3 separate regions of the Homo sapiens genome follow, and all the other regions are linked to region 3. Evidence: promoter capture Hi-C in human tissues and cell types (Jung and others, 2019). All regions are on one chromosome and are shown on one strand. The core of a region is centred on a gene start or on the middle of the fragment in contact, and the rest is flanking DNA. Distances in the headings are between cores, read along the strand shown. Region 1 overlaps NRCAM (neuronal cell adhesion molecule). Region 2 overlaps PNPLA8 (patatin like domain 8, phospholipase A2). Region 3 holds the start of NRCAM (neuronal cell adhesion molecule).

What was found. The method cuts DNA at HindIII sites, captures the fragments that hold promoters and counts their contacts. A contact is called where the count stands out against the background at its distance.
Region 1: a contact is called between a fragment that was not itself captured here and the fragment with the promoter of NRCAM in region 3, in 2 of the 25 tissues and cell types used here (dorsolateral prefrontal cortex and hippocampus).
Region 2: a contact is called between a fragment that was not itself captured here and the fragment with the promoter of NRCAM in region 3, in 1 of the 25 tissues and cell types used here (neural progenitor cells).

The regions. Positions count from the first base shown.
Region 1 is chr7:108,407,778-108,411,904 of GRCh38, forward strand. The region is part of intron 1 of NRCAM (neuronal cell adhesion molecule); the gene reads right to left. Among named protein-coding and RNA genes, the nearest start is that of NRCAM, 47 kb to the right of the region's middle. The HindIII fragment of the contact is 4,327 bases long and covers 1-4,082 here.
Region 2 is chr7:108,513,582-108,517,810 of GRCh38, forward strand. PNPLA8 (patatin like domain 8, phospholipase A2) reads right to left here. Exons shown (of 11, transcript NM_001256007.3): 3 at 855-1,993; 4 at 563-712. The coding sequence starts at 1,910. Among named protein-coding and RNA genes, the nearest start is that of PNPLA8, 10 kb to the right of the region's middle. The HindIII fragment of the contact is 8,100 bases long and covers 1-4,229 here.
Region 3 is chr7:108,454,456-108,458,264 of GRCh38, forward strand. It overlaps NRCAM (neuronal cell adhesion molecule), which reads right to left and starts at 1,981. Exons shown (of 33, transcript NM_001037132.4): 1 at 1,788-1,981. The HindIII fragment of the contact is 13,209 bases long and covers 1-3,809 here.

The sequences.
Region 1 (4,127 bases), core at 669-3,168, 47 kb before region 3:
ATTGTGTTGATGGTTTCACAGGTGTATGTTAAAATTTATCAAATTGTCCATTTTAAGTATGTGCAGTTTGTTGTGTTTAATTATATCTCAATAAAGCTGTTAAAAAAGCAAAACTCCAGATGGCCAAAGCCCACAATTGAGATTCCGATTTAATTGGTCTTGGGTAGGACTCTCCAGGTGGTTGTAATGTGAAGCCAAGAACTATTAATCTAATATATAATGAATCTTTCCAAATTTAAATTGATGTGATTGATATAAAATTGATAAGGGAATATTTTTAAAGAAGTGATTTTATCATTTTCAACTACAAACAATAACAGATTTGTTTTCTTTTTTTAAAAAAACTGCCACCCAGCAAAGAAATTTAGAGACTTCCTTTAATGATTCATAATAATTCATAAATCCAACCTTTAATTGCCTATCGTGTACTAGGTACTATGCTAGGTAGCACATAGATTATATGCTTGTATGGAACTGACACTTTTTAAGAGCCCAACATTCTCTTAAATGAATTTAAACTAGATTAAATCCACAAACTGGTTAAATATTGATTTGTCTAGGAAGAACTAAACGGAGAAAATGTAAAAATGAACCTGTTGTGGCCCTATTTGGTGGTCATGGATTCTCTATGAGTGCCATTCAAATCCAGGAGGTTTTGCTCTATTTGCCAAGCTGCTGAGCTGGGCACAGGCTTTTTAGCAAGAATGTGAGAAAAGCTGTCCCGGAAAATTGGAAGCTTCCTGCCAGAGGGCACCATCCTCCCCTCCTGACATATGAGGTTCTATGCCAGTGTCTTCACATACAGATACCAAGACAGCTTCATATCCACAATAAAATAGCCAAAGCCTCTTATTAGGGAAAATTGATATTTAATATTAGCTCACATATGTCTTTACTCCGTTACTAATATGAAACTTTGAACATAATTAGTGTTGGCTTTGAATGCAGTTTGGAACTGCACCCAGCTGGAAAGGGGCCATGGAGCATTGGGTTTCATTCCTCACCAAGCTGAGCACTCCCTGAAAGGGATTAGAAGAGAAAGAAATGGAGCCGACCCTCATTCAGTAAGAAATGTCCTCCTTGGGTTCAGTGGGATGACTGTAGAGGCGGGGCGGGTAGGAGAACTGGGACTGTCACCCTCCTCAATTCCTTGTCGCCTCCTACCTCCACAAGGCATTGCAAAATGAAATTAGGTGAATGGAGCCCTTAAGCTGGGGAACGAGGGGTGTGACATATTCAGGGAGCTGTTTGTGTGAGGGAAGGCACAAAACACCTGCCTAGAAAGAGAAGGTGGCTGTGGAGTCTCACACGGCCCCAGAGGAGTGAGATTCACTTTGGTCACAGGATGGAGGCTAGGCAGGAATTTGAGGTTAGGTAGGATCAACGCGTGCAGAGCATTAAGAGAAATGTAACCTGCAAAAAGGTAGAATTTCCAGACTGCTGACCACTATCACTGCTTCAGCTAAAACAAAACAACATTGAATGTTTTTTCCTAAATAGAAATGGATGACATATTTTACATCCTGCATAGGAAGGAAAGTAAAGCCATCTGGCAACTTCCAATAACCAGCTCAATGCATTGCACCTCCCACTCCTACGAACAGTCTGTGACAGCCACACTTATACTAAAATCTAAAGCTTCTGACACTTCCTTCCCAAACTTCCCCATCTGTTCTGACATCTCCTGTTGACCTCTCTCCAGAGCCTCTTTAGATCTCTCCCTGGGTCACTCTTCAATTCCATTTTCACCCCGGTGCCATCTCGCGCATCACCCCAGTCTCCAGGCACCAGGCCTGAGGACAGGTCGCTCCTCCTTCATTCTGATGCCCAGCTCAGGGGTCCAAGACCCCATTTTGGGGGAGGAGGAGCATGATGGCTTCCCCCATGTTCTAATGGTTTCAACAGCATCTTATATGTAACCTGTAATAGACCCTTATTTTAGTAGTGAAAAATTAAAATTTAGCAAAATTTCCCCTGGCAAAAAAATTTCACACCCATAGAAGCTGTGAACACAAGGTTATGTTTACCTTGTTAGATAAAATAATATGCATAGACTTTTGAAGGACATCTAGATTCTAACACTATATCATAATTTGCAGTTCTAACTTCTAAATAAAAATTGTTTTGCATATTATATCTTTCTTTTTAAAAGGTTGTATTTGAATGATTGATTTCCCACTAAATCAAGCCAAATATGTGTCTCACCTTTGACTTATTCCTGCCACCACCTTGTTTGTTTTTAAATCATTACAAAAAGAAGAACCCTGAGCCATTAAAAACTATAGGCATACCCAGCAAATAGTTCCTGACTCAAGAGACTCTCAAATCAATATTCTTAAGTTGTATTTTAGTACAACTGCTGCAACTGTGCGGACCTCGAATTCAAGTTTAAAAACTTCATTAAAGTACAGATAGAAAAATATAAGCCCATATTAAATAGCCCTTGATTAAATTTGGGTGTTTCCTTATAATTCTAGTCACTATGACTGTATTTCACCCAATTTCTTATTAAGAATTGTCTTGTTATAGTGGTTGCAGTATGCATTGATACTCATCCCACAAACCTTTAAAACATTACAAGCCATTTCATAGAAAGACTAGGGGATAATTTTCTTGGACAAAAGATGAAGGTGAAATGTGAGAGTGCTCCTTAAATTTGATGGGTTTCTGGGAGTACAGTGGTTGCCAGTCCTCACTGTACATGAAACTCCCTGGGGCACTTTCAAAAACAGTTCTGATGCTTGGGCCCCAATCCCAGGGATTTAATTGGTCTGAGGTAGGGACTGGGCCTTGATCAATTTTTAAAGCTCAATCTAATATGCGTTAGAGGTAAACCTTCCCTGAAGGTAGATTTTACTTTAATACAGTACTAAGAACTTTGTAAGGAGAACTGTCCAAGGACAAAACAGGTCACCTCGTGAGGGTCAAGTCCTTTGTCACAGCAAGTGTGGAAGGGCAGCCTGTATGACTGAGCCCCTATCAGGGATAGTGGAGGAAGTGGTCCAGCATGGGGTGGTTCAGACCCTTGAAACTGATTTTTTCTATACTAGTTCTATCTTGGGTCAGTATTTAAGGTAAAGCAAGCAAAGAAAAACGCCTTGTTTGCTATGTCATCCTTGAAACAAAATAGTTTATATAACATCTTTCGTATCATCCCGATAAAACTTGTTAATTTGCACACAAAATCAAGCACAAAATTTTGTTCCATTTTCAGTTTTATTCTGTTTTTTTAAAAAAACTTTCCTTCTACAATGAATTGATTATATTCTAATTGTTGATACTTTTTCCAACTTTCCACTACTTCAGCCTATGAAAGGCCTTTTTTAATCAGTTGGCATTTATTTTTTCTTCAATTCATAAAAATAATTCCTCATCCCAAATGTTCTGTGAAATGTTATTAATATAGGACTACCTGTGGATTTCTCTCCAATTATCTTTTTTTTTCTTAAGCACTAACATGAAAATTTCCTCTAACCTTTCCTGGGAGATACATTTTGGCTTTTATTTAAAGGATGATACCCTTAAGGTTTTTTTCCTTCAAATTTAAATGCATGAATACTTGCAGGAGCTAACAGGATAAAAAGGAAAAGGTCCCTGAATGTCTCTATCATTAGGTTGGGATTTTTAAAGTTTTGCTTTTTGTTGTTTCTCTATAACTGGGTTGATGTTAATACTATATGCTATTTTACAACTTACTTTTTAAATGTTACAACATGTGTTGAGATTGTTCCATATCAGTAGACATGGGCCTAGATCTTTTCTATTTTTATAAAATAAAAATAAATACAATAAAAAGTAAGTGAGTGCAATGGCGTGATCTCAGCTCACTGCAACCTCTGCCTCCTGGGTTCAAGGGATTCTCCTGCCTCAGCCTCTTGAGTAGCTGGGATTACAGGTGTGCGCCACCACGCCCGGCTAATTTTTTTTGTATTTTTAGTAGAGACGGGGTTTCACCATGTTGGTCAGGCTGGTCTCGAACTCCCGACCTCGTGATCTGCCCGCCTCAGCCTTCCAAAGTGCTGGTATTACAGGCATAAGCCACCACACCCAGCCAGGCCTAGATCTTCTAACAGCTACACAGTATGGATGTACCTTAGTTTCGTAACCATTCCACTGTTGACAGTCCA
Region 2 (4,229 bases), core at 525-3,024, 59 kb after region 3:
ATCACATTAGTCATATTTTATAGCACTTCTCTGAAAACAGTCCATTTAAGTGGGTCTAAATTATCTTCATTATTTTATAGTTGAAAAAACTGAGGCAAAGAAAAGCTCATTGTTTTACTTAATATGATTACTAATTCAATTATGAGTAAGGTCATTCAAATTTTTAGACTTTCAAATACGAAAGGACCATGAAATAAAAACAACAGCCTCACATATGAATTATGTCTCCTATCTTAAAAGAACAGTTACATAGTATAAATATTTACATTGCACTAAAGAAAAATCTGGCAGCTGTTAGGCAATTCAACTAATAAACTGATTATTTTCTATTTTATAAATGTTTAATTTCAAAGTATACATATTGGTGCTAACAAAATAAAATGAATTGATTAGCATAATGTATGTCACAAAATAAATAGGGTAATTACTGAATACACATCACATGTATAATAAAAACCACAAAATTCAAATGGAAAAATGAAAGGCTTTGCCTTCTCCATTTTAGATTTTTTTTAGTACTTCTATTCCAAGACAAAACTAGATTAAATAAATTAGAAATTACCTTGACAGCCACTCCTTTTCCTTCAGGAAATTCTAGAAGATGAAAAGTCAGTTCTTCAACCCTAGTAATGCAGAGCTTTGGGTCAGTTGTTCTTCTTAATGCCTGAACTAATGCCCGGGTCCTGTTATCAATACTCACCCTTGCGATAATCTACAAAGACATATTAAATAGATATGATTAGAATACAAAACTGCTCTAAAGAACAATGAAAGTTTCTTAGTTCTCATTAGGAAATAAAACTTATAAATTTGACAAAAAGTAATAGAACCGAAAAGCACACTGAACAACTTGCCTTTTCTCGCTGAAGAGATAAACGCTTTTTCTCCTCTGCATTTCTGTCTTTGCTGACAGCCTGATCAGTTTTAGCAGGCTCTTCCTGTTCTTCTGACTGACTCTTTGAATCATACTTTAATTTGGGGACAAGTCCACCAATATAACCACCTACTAAAGCTTGTACACCTTCCGTGGGACGAGAAAGAAAGTTAGCAATACTTTGTTTAGTTGAAACTTGAAGAACATCAGGTATCGCAGAAGGACTTGTAGGCTTGTCCACCGTATGTACAGATTCTGAGCCTGGCTTATAAGCCAGGATGCCAGGATCTGGAGATCTTAATTTCCCCTCTTCTACCTTTTTATCTTCAAGTTCTGATTTGTCCCGGAAATGTTCATTTTCCTTTTGTTGAGACATTTTTTCCTTACGTTTGAAATATGAATTAATATGATTTGATAAAAAGTAGAATGAGTCTCCAAATTTTGTGGTTATAGAACTTGTGTAATGAAAAAGACTGCGTTTACCTATATCTTCTTCTTTGTCTATAATGTGACTTTTCTCTTCTGGAAAAGGACTCTTTTCTGCTGATTTGTCACTATATTTTTTCAGAGATTTGATGGCTTGTTTGATGTTTTTCTGTTTTAACCAGCCACTATCCGATACTTTTCTTAAAATTTGGGAACTTGGCTTAAATTGAGCTAAACGTGAAATCATTTCATTTTGATTGCCAAAAACAGCCTTTGAAACAGAGTTCAAAGTACTTTTAATACGGGACATACAAATGTTCACTTTTGTAAGTCCCTTGGGAGCAGAAGTGCTAAGTTTCAAAATCCCAATATGTAAACCATGGTTGCTTGGAGAGTAACAGTGCTTACTGCAAGAATGTGCTTCACTTTTGGTCCATTTACATCTTATTATGTTTGTATGAAAACCTCTTTGTAGACTGATGTGGCTTATCCTCCAGTAATGCTTAGGTGAGAACAAGAAATACAGTTGCTTGCTTCTCTGCTTCCCACAAACACTTCTTGCATTACTAAGGAGGTAAATATATATATCTACAGTCAGATTAATAGACATAACTTAAAAATCATTTATTTTCTATGACATTCTCTCACTTCTTGAACGCTTCATTTAAGAAATGCCATAATTCATGGTCTTACCTGAAATGGCAAGAAAAAAAATTAGAATTCAAGTTAAAAATTGAAATTGGGTATAACAGAAAACACAAGACTATTTGGACTAAACTCAGCAAGCTGTCTCAAAAAAAGCAGACAAAATATTCCTATTATAGCTGATAGAAAATTCATTTTTAAGCTAATAGAAAATAATTCACTTTCAGTATAGAGGTAAATAAAAAAAGAAAATGAGGAATAGAATGTTTAGGGAGAAGAACTAATTTAGGGAAGTTTCCCAATAGATAAGTCTTCCGTTGCACAACACATAATTTAATATGCAATTTAGATACTATGCTTTTTTTTCCCTTCCTCATTGTTAAATTCTGGACTACTTTATGTGACACTAGACTTTAATTCCTTGAAGAAAAAGGTCAGGTCTTATACATTATTCATTGCAAACGATTTATAGAATACTTAATCTATACCAGACATGGTGCTAGATGCTGAAGCCACACAGTTACAGGATATGAAAGAATTTCCAGACTAGAGCTGCTGATAGCCATGTGAAAAAGATTTCACTACCTAAGTAATAAGTGCTCATTAAATCAAGTAAGTCAGGCTAGAAGAAACTACAGCATATAACATAGAAGGGGTTCTTAACCACTATGTAAAAAGAACACATACAAATAAGAAAAGAATAATCCAATTTAAAAATGTGGTATTGGTAAAAGAAAAGACAAATAGATCAATGGAACAGAATAGAGAGTCCAGAAACAGACCCAATTAAATACAGTTAATTGATCTTTGACAAAAGAGCAAAGGTAATACAATGGGGCAAAAATAGTCTTAACAAATGACAACTGACATCTGCATGCAAATTAATCTAGACACAGACTTTATACCTATCAAAAAAATTAACTCAAAACAGATTACAGATCTAAATGTAAAATGCAAATGTATAAAACTAGAATATAACATAGGAGAAAACTTAGATGACCTTAGGAATGGCAATGACTTTGAGACAATATCAAATGCACAATACACAAAAGAAAAAATTGGTAAGGTAGACTTCATTAATATTAAAAACTTCTGGCCAGGCGTGGTGGCTCACGCCTGTAATCCCAGCACTTTAGGAGGCTGAGGCAGGCAGATCACGAGGTCAGGAGTTCAAGACCAGCCTGGTCGGCATGGTGAAACCCCATCTCTACCAAAAATACAAAAAATTAGCTAGGCATGGTGGTGCACGTCGGTAATCTCAGCTACTCGGGTGGCTGAGGCAGAAGAATCACTTGAATCCAGGAGGCAGAGGTTACAGCGAGCCAAGATCGTGCCACTGCACTCCAGCCTGGGTGATAGAGCCAGGCTTTGTCTCAAAAACAAAACAAACAAAAAAAAAACCAACCTTCTGCTCTGTGAAGGTCAATGTCAAGAGAATAAGACAACGAGGCAGAGATTGGGAAAAAATATTTTCAACAGACATATCTGATAAAGAGCTGTCATCCGTAATATCCAAAGAACTCTTAAAGCTCGACAATAAGAAAACAAACTCAATTACAAATGTGCCAAAGGCCGTAACAGACACCTCATCAAAGGAGATATATAGATAACAAATAAACATATAAGAAGTTGTACCACATCATATGTCATCAGGAAAATGCAAACTAAAATAACCATGATACTACTACATATCTATTAGAATGGCCAGAATACAGAACATTGAGAACACTAAATGCTGGTGAGGATGTAAAGTAAAAGGAACTCTCACTCATTGCTGAAGAAAGACAAAATGGTACAGCCACTTTGAAAGATAGTTCGGTAGCTTCTTACAAAATTAAACATACTCTTAACATGACCCAGCAATGGTACTCCTCGATATTTACCCAAAGGAGCTGAAGACTAAGTCCATAATAAAATCTGCACGAGGATGTTTACAGAAGCCTTATTCATAATTGCCAAAATTTCAAAACAACAAGATGTATTTTAGTAAGTGAATGGATAAACTGTGGTACATCAATATACGGTATGTGTATGTGCCACAGACAGACAATGGAAAATTGTTCAGTGCTACAAAGACATGAGCTATCAAGCCATAAAAAGACCGTGAGAAACCTGAAATGCATATTACTAAGTGAAAACAGCCAATCTGAAAAGGCTACATACTGTGTCTTAGTCTGTTCAGGCTCCTACAACAAAATCCCATAAACTGGGGAGCTTACATATATATGTAATATGGGGTGTCTGTGTGTGTGTGTTTTATAGAGACAGGGTCTCACTCTGTCAC
Region 3 (3,809 bases), core at 731-3,230:
TTAAAATGGGGTTGCTGTGAGAATTAAATGAGATGATACATGTAACATGCGCAGCGCCCAGCACATCTAAAGCTCTCAAAACCGGTTGGCTATCGTTACCATTAAAGCAGCAAGTATCAGTTGCCTAACTCCATTTCAGTACTTCAGCAAGTACTGCCATTATTACAATATTTTAACAGCAGGGCATGGTTAGCACAATGCAGTCCCATAAAGCAGCCCAGCCTCCGAGGTTTGTATTCAGAGGTTACTGTGTTCCTTTCCAGGACCACCCCAGGGGGAGCTCCTGGTGCACAACCAATGCTTCCTGCCTCATTACACTTGGCTCCATCTCCTCCTGCAAAAGCCTGGGGCGAGGAAGAGCCCAGTCTCTTAGACCCGCACTTCTGAGCGTTAACCATCTGGGACTCGGAAAGGAAAAGAAAGCTTTCTTCTCAGGACAGTTCTGCGCCGGTGGTAGCCAAGGGCTGGAGCCCCTGATGCGAAGAAAAGGGAAGGAGAGAGGCGGGGTGCGAAAGAAACGCCACCGCTCGGCGCCCTCCCTCGGTGCCCGCGGCGCAGGGGCCACCCGCCAGCGTACGGGGGACGAAGATGTGGCCGCGGGCGCGGGCGGGAGGGGAGGCGATCCGGGGAAGGAAGCGGCCTGTTCGCCAGCCCCGGGGCCCGGGGAGCCCTCCAGCAGCGCTTGCGGCCCTGAGGACACCGCTTTGGGAGAAATGACGACTCCCTTGCTCACCCTACTGCGACACCCCGTCCCCCTCCGCACTCTAGCAGATGCGGGCCGGGAGTAGCTGAGCTGGCCAACCGCCTGGGACCAGGATGCGGCAGCGCCCACCCGCGCGGCGTGGAGGGGGCCGGGGGCGGCGCTCGGCGCAGATGGCGCTCGCTGCGAGATGGATGCTCCAGGGCGGGTAATCACTCCTGGCTCAACACAGCATCCCGGGCGGAGCGGATGCCAGATCCCACCGCTAAGAGCCTGGGCTGGGAAAGCAATCTTTCCAGGCAGCCCCCAGCCCGGTGCGCCGGCCCCGACAAGTCCCAGCCCTCGGAGGCAGGGCGGGGCGCAGGGACTCCCGGGACCCGCACCTGTAAGGCCGACAAAGCCCCCGCAAGCGCCCCACCCCTCTGTCCTCCGTGTCTCTCTCGTTCCGCCTCGATTCCCCGAGCCCTCTCCAGGCAGCGACTGGAGAAGCGAAGTCGGCCTCGCCCCCGAACTCCGTGGTCAGCACAGGTGTACGCACTTCCGAACAAAGCCCACGCCCAGACGTGTCCGCAGGGGCCCGAACAGGCACACGCCCGTGCGCTCCCGGCCCGGCCCCCGCGCTCCTCGCCCCGCCGGCACTGTGGCGTGACGCCCCGCGCCTCCGTGTCCAAGCCCGGGAAGCCGCCGTGCCGGGCCCGCAGGCTCTCCATGCCCAACTGCCCACGAGCAAGAGCTCTGGGCAGGGCTTCCCGGAAAGCGTGGGGTGCGGGCGCGGAGCAGAAGTTGGCCACAGGCTGGAGGGGGTGGTGGGTGCCGGCGCTGCTGGATTTCAGCTGTGCCTTCACCCAAGCGCAGGTCCCCCTGCTCCCTCTCGGCGCCCGCGGGAGTGTCGGGGGCCTGCAGGGGAGAAGGGAGTTGGAGATCTGCTTTGCCCCTCCTGCAGCGCTGCCAGCCCGGTGAGCGCTCGGCTGAACCCCGCGGCGGTGTCCAAGTGACAACGCAGCAGCCTCGCGCGTCCTCCTCCGCTCCAGCCGTCACCCCCGAGCAGGACCCAGTGTCACCGCCAGACGCGCAAGGAGCTACTTACGTTCTCGCGCCGCGCCCTCCGCTCAGCTCTGGCGCGACTGCCCAGGACCCTGGACCGCCGGTGTCCTCCGTTCTCGACGAAGCTATCCCCTCTGGCTGCTCCAGCCAGGCGGCCCCTGCGCCGTCCCCCGCGCCCGCGCGTCTGAGGCTCGGACTGCGGCGCGCGTCCGCCAGCGACCCTGGCGAAGCGAGGCTGGCCCCGCGCCGGCGCGCGCCCCCGCCGCTCCCGCCCTCTCCGCTCCCCCTCCCCGCGCCGTGCTTTTGCCCCTCCCGGCTCTCCTTAGCGTCCTCCCGTCCCCCTCCCCCGCACTCCCTGCGGGCGTCCTCCGCCTCCTCCCCTCCTGGCCAACCCCCTCTTGCCCTGCTGCTGCGACGGCAGCGAATGGGCTCCAGCCGCCGGCGCCTCGAGGGACTGGGTGGCCCCTCACCTGAGCGGCCGCCCCACCGCCAACCTCCGTCAGCCTGCGAGCGCGTGTGGCGGCGGGGGTGGGGGTGCGGGGACGGAGGGCGGGAGTGTTCCGGGGCTAGGATGGCTGGGATTTAGCTACAAAAGATGTTCCAGAAAATGGGTAGTTTTTGAATGCCACTCTCATGGGTTTAGCTTTCTGTGGGAGGTCTGTGGTCTTCTAGTTTTTTCTTTTTTAAAAAGCACTTTCTTCGAAATTCATCAGTTGGGGTGGTTGAGATTGGGTGAGTGGTTTTGGGGGTTTTGTTTTGTTTTTGCAACCGTTCTTTCCAAACACTCCCCGCCGCCCCCCACCACCGCAGAAAAAAGAGCTTTTAGCATAAGGCGGATGCTATCTATCCGCGGTAGAAACTGGGTCTTCTGGTCCCAAGGAATAGGGTTAGTTCGGATTTGCTTATTTACAAATGGGGGAGTATTATGGAGATTTTTTTTTTTTTTTTTTGGCAATGTAAATCGAGAATTAAGATTTTCCAACTGTATAGTATTTGAGTAAACACACTGCTTGCTGCATAGTTCAGGCTCCGAAGCGCACGTCTCCACTCTATCGTGGATGGTGTTCAGGATCCTTAGCCTGACCCTTGGGTCCTCCGTAATCTACTCCGGTCTGCACACAAATTACTTGTCTGCTGGGTATCACCCGACTTGACCACTTACAGCAGGCTCCAGCGCTTAGTGAGCTCAGCGGAGCCTTGATTCCTTCAGTTCTCTAATTCAGGAAAACATTTTCTGAGCTCCTCACCACCCCACCCCACCTCACCACCTCCTCCACCCCCAGCCTCCAAGGTGCTGGGGCAAGATTCAGGAATGAAAAAGAAACAGGTTCATCCTTCAAGGTCTTGACTACCCCAGTGGTCTGTTCTAACTTCAATTTGAACTTGCCCCGTCAGCTCACAGCATCTGCATGCAAGTGAGCAGCCTTCTTTTCCTTCTCCTTCTACTGCCATCCTCTCCTCCTTCTCCAGCCAAATGTGCTCTGGCCTCACAGAGCCTCCCTCGGTTCCTGAACCAGCATGATATCTGGCTGCTGGGTCATTGCACAAGTTGTTTCCACAGTCCCATCAGTGGTTCTTCTGACTCTAGTCCTTACCCAACTGCCATTCAGGTGGTACCTTGCACCTCTCAACTAATTGTCCAAATTTTCCTCTAAAATACCTTCCCCCCCGCAAAAAAAAAGATTCCATGATCCCCCTACTTGAAAGTCTGGGCTGGTGGGCTGGTTCTCTATTGCCTACAAAGTAAATTCCACATCTCCTGGTGTGCCTCTTTACAATCTGCTCCTAACTTATCTCTCCATTTTCCATAACTCTAAGCCTCTGCATGTGAGGTTCCTCCTAGCTAGAATATTGGTCCATCTCTTTTTCATTTGGCAAACTCTTGTTCATCCTTCAGAGCCTTACTTGGTTGTTACCTCCTCTGTAAGGACTATTATAATAGTGCTGGTCACCTTTTAATGATCTGTTTGCATGTCTGACTCCATAAAATTTCACTTCTTTGAGGACAATTTGTCTTATTTATTTTTGTGTAACCACATTTCTCATCAATACAAATGAAGCCACA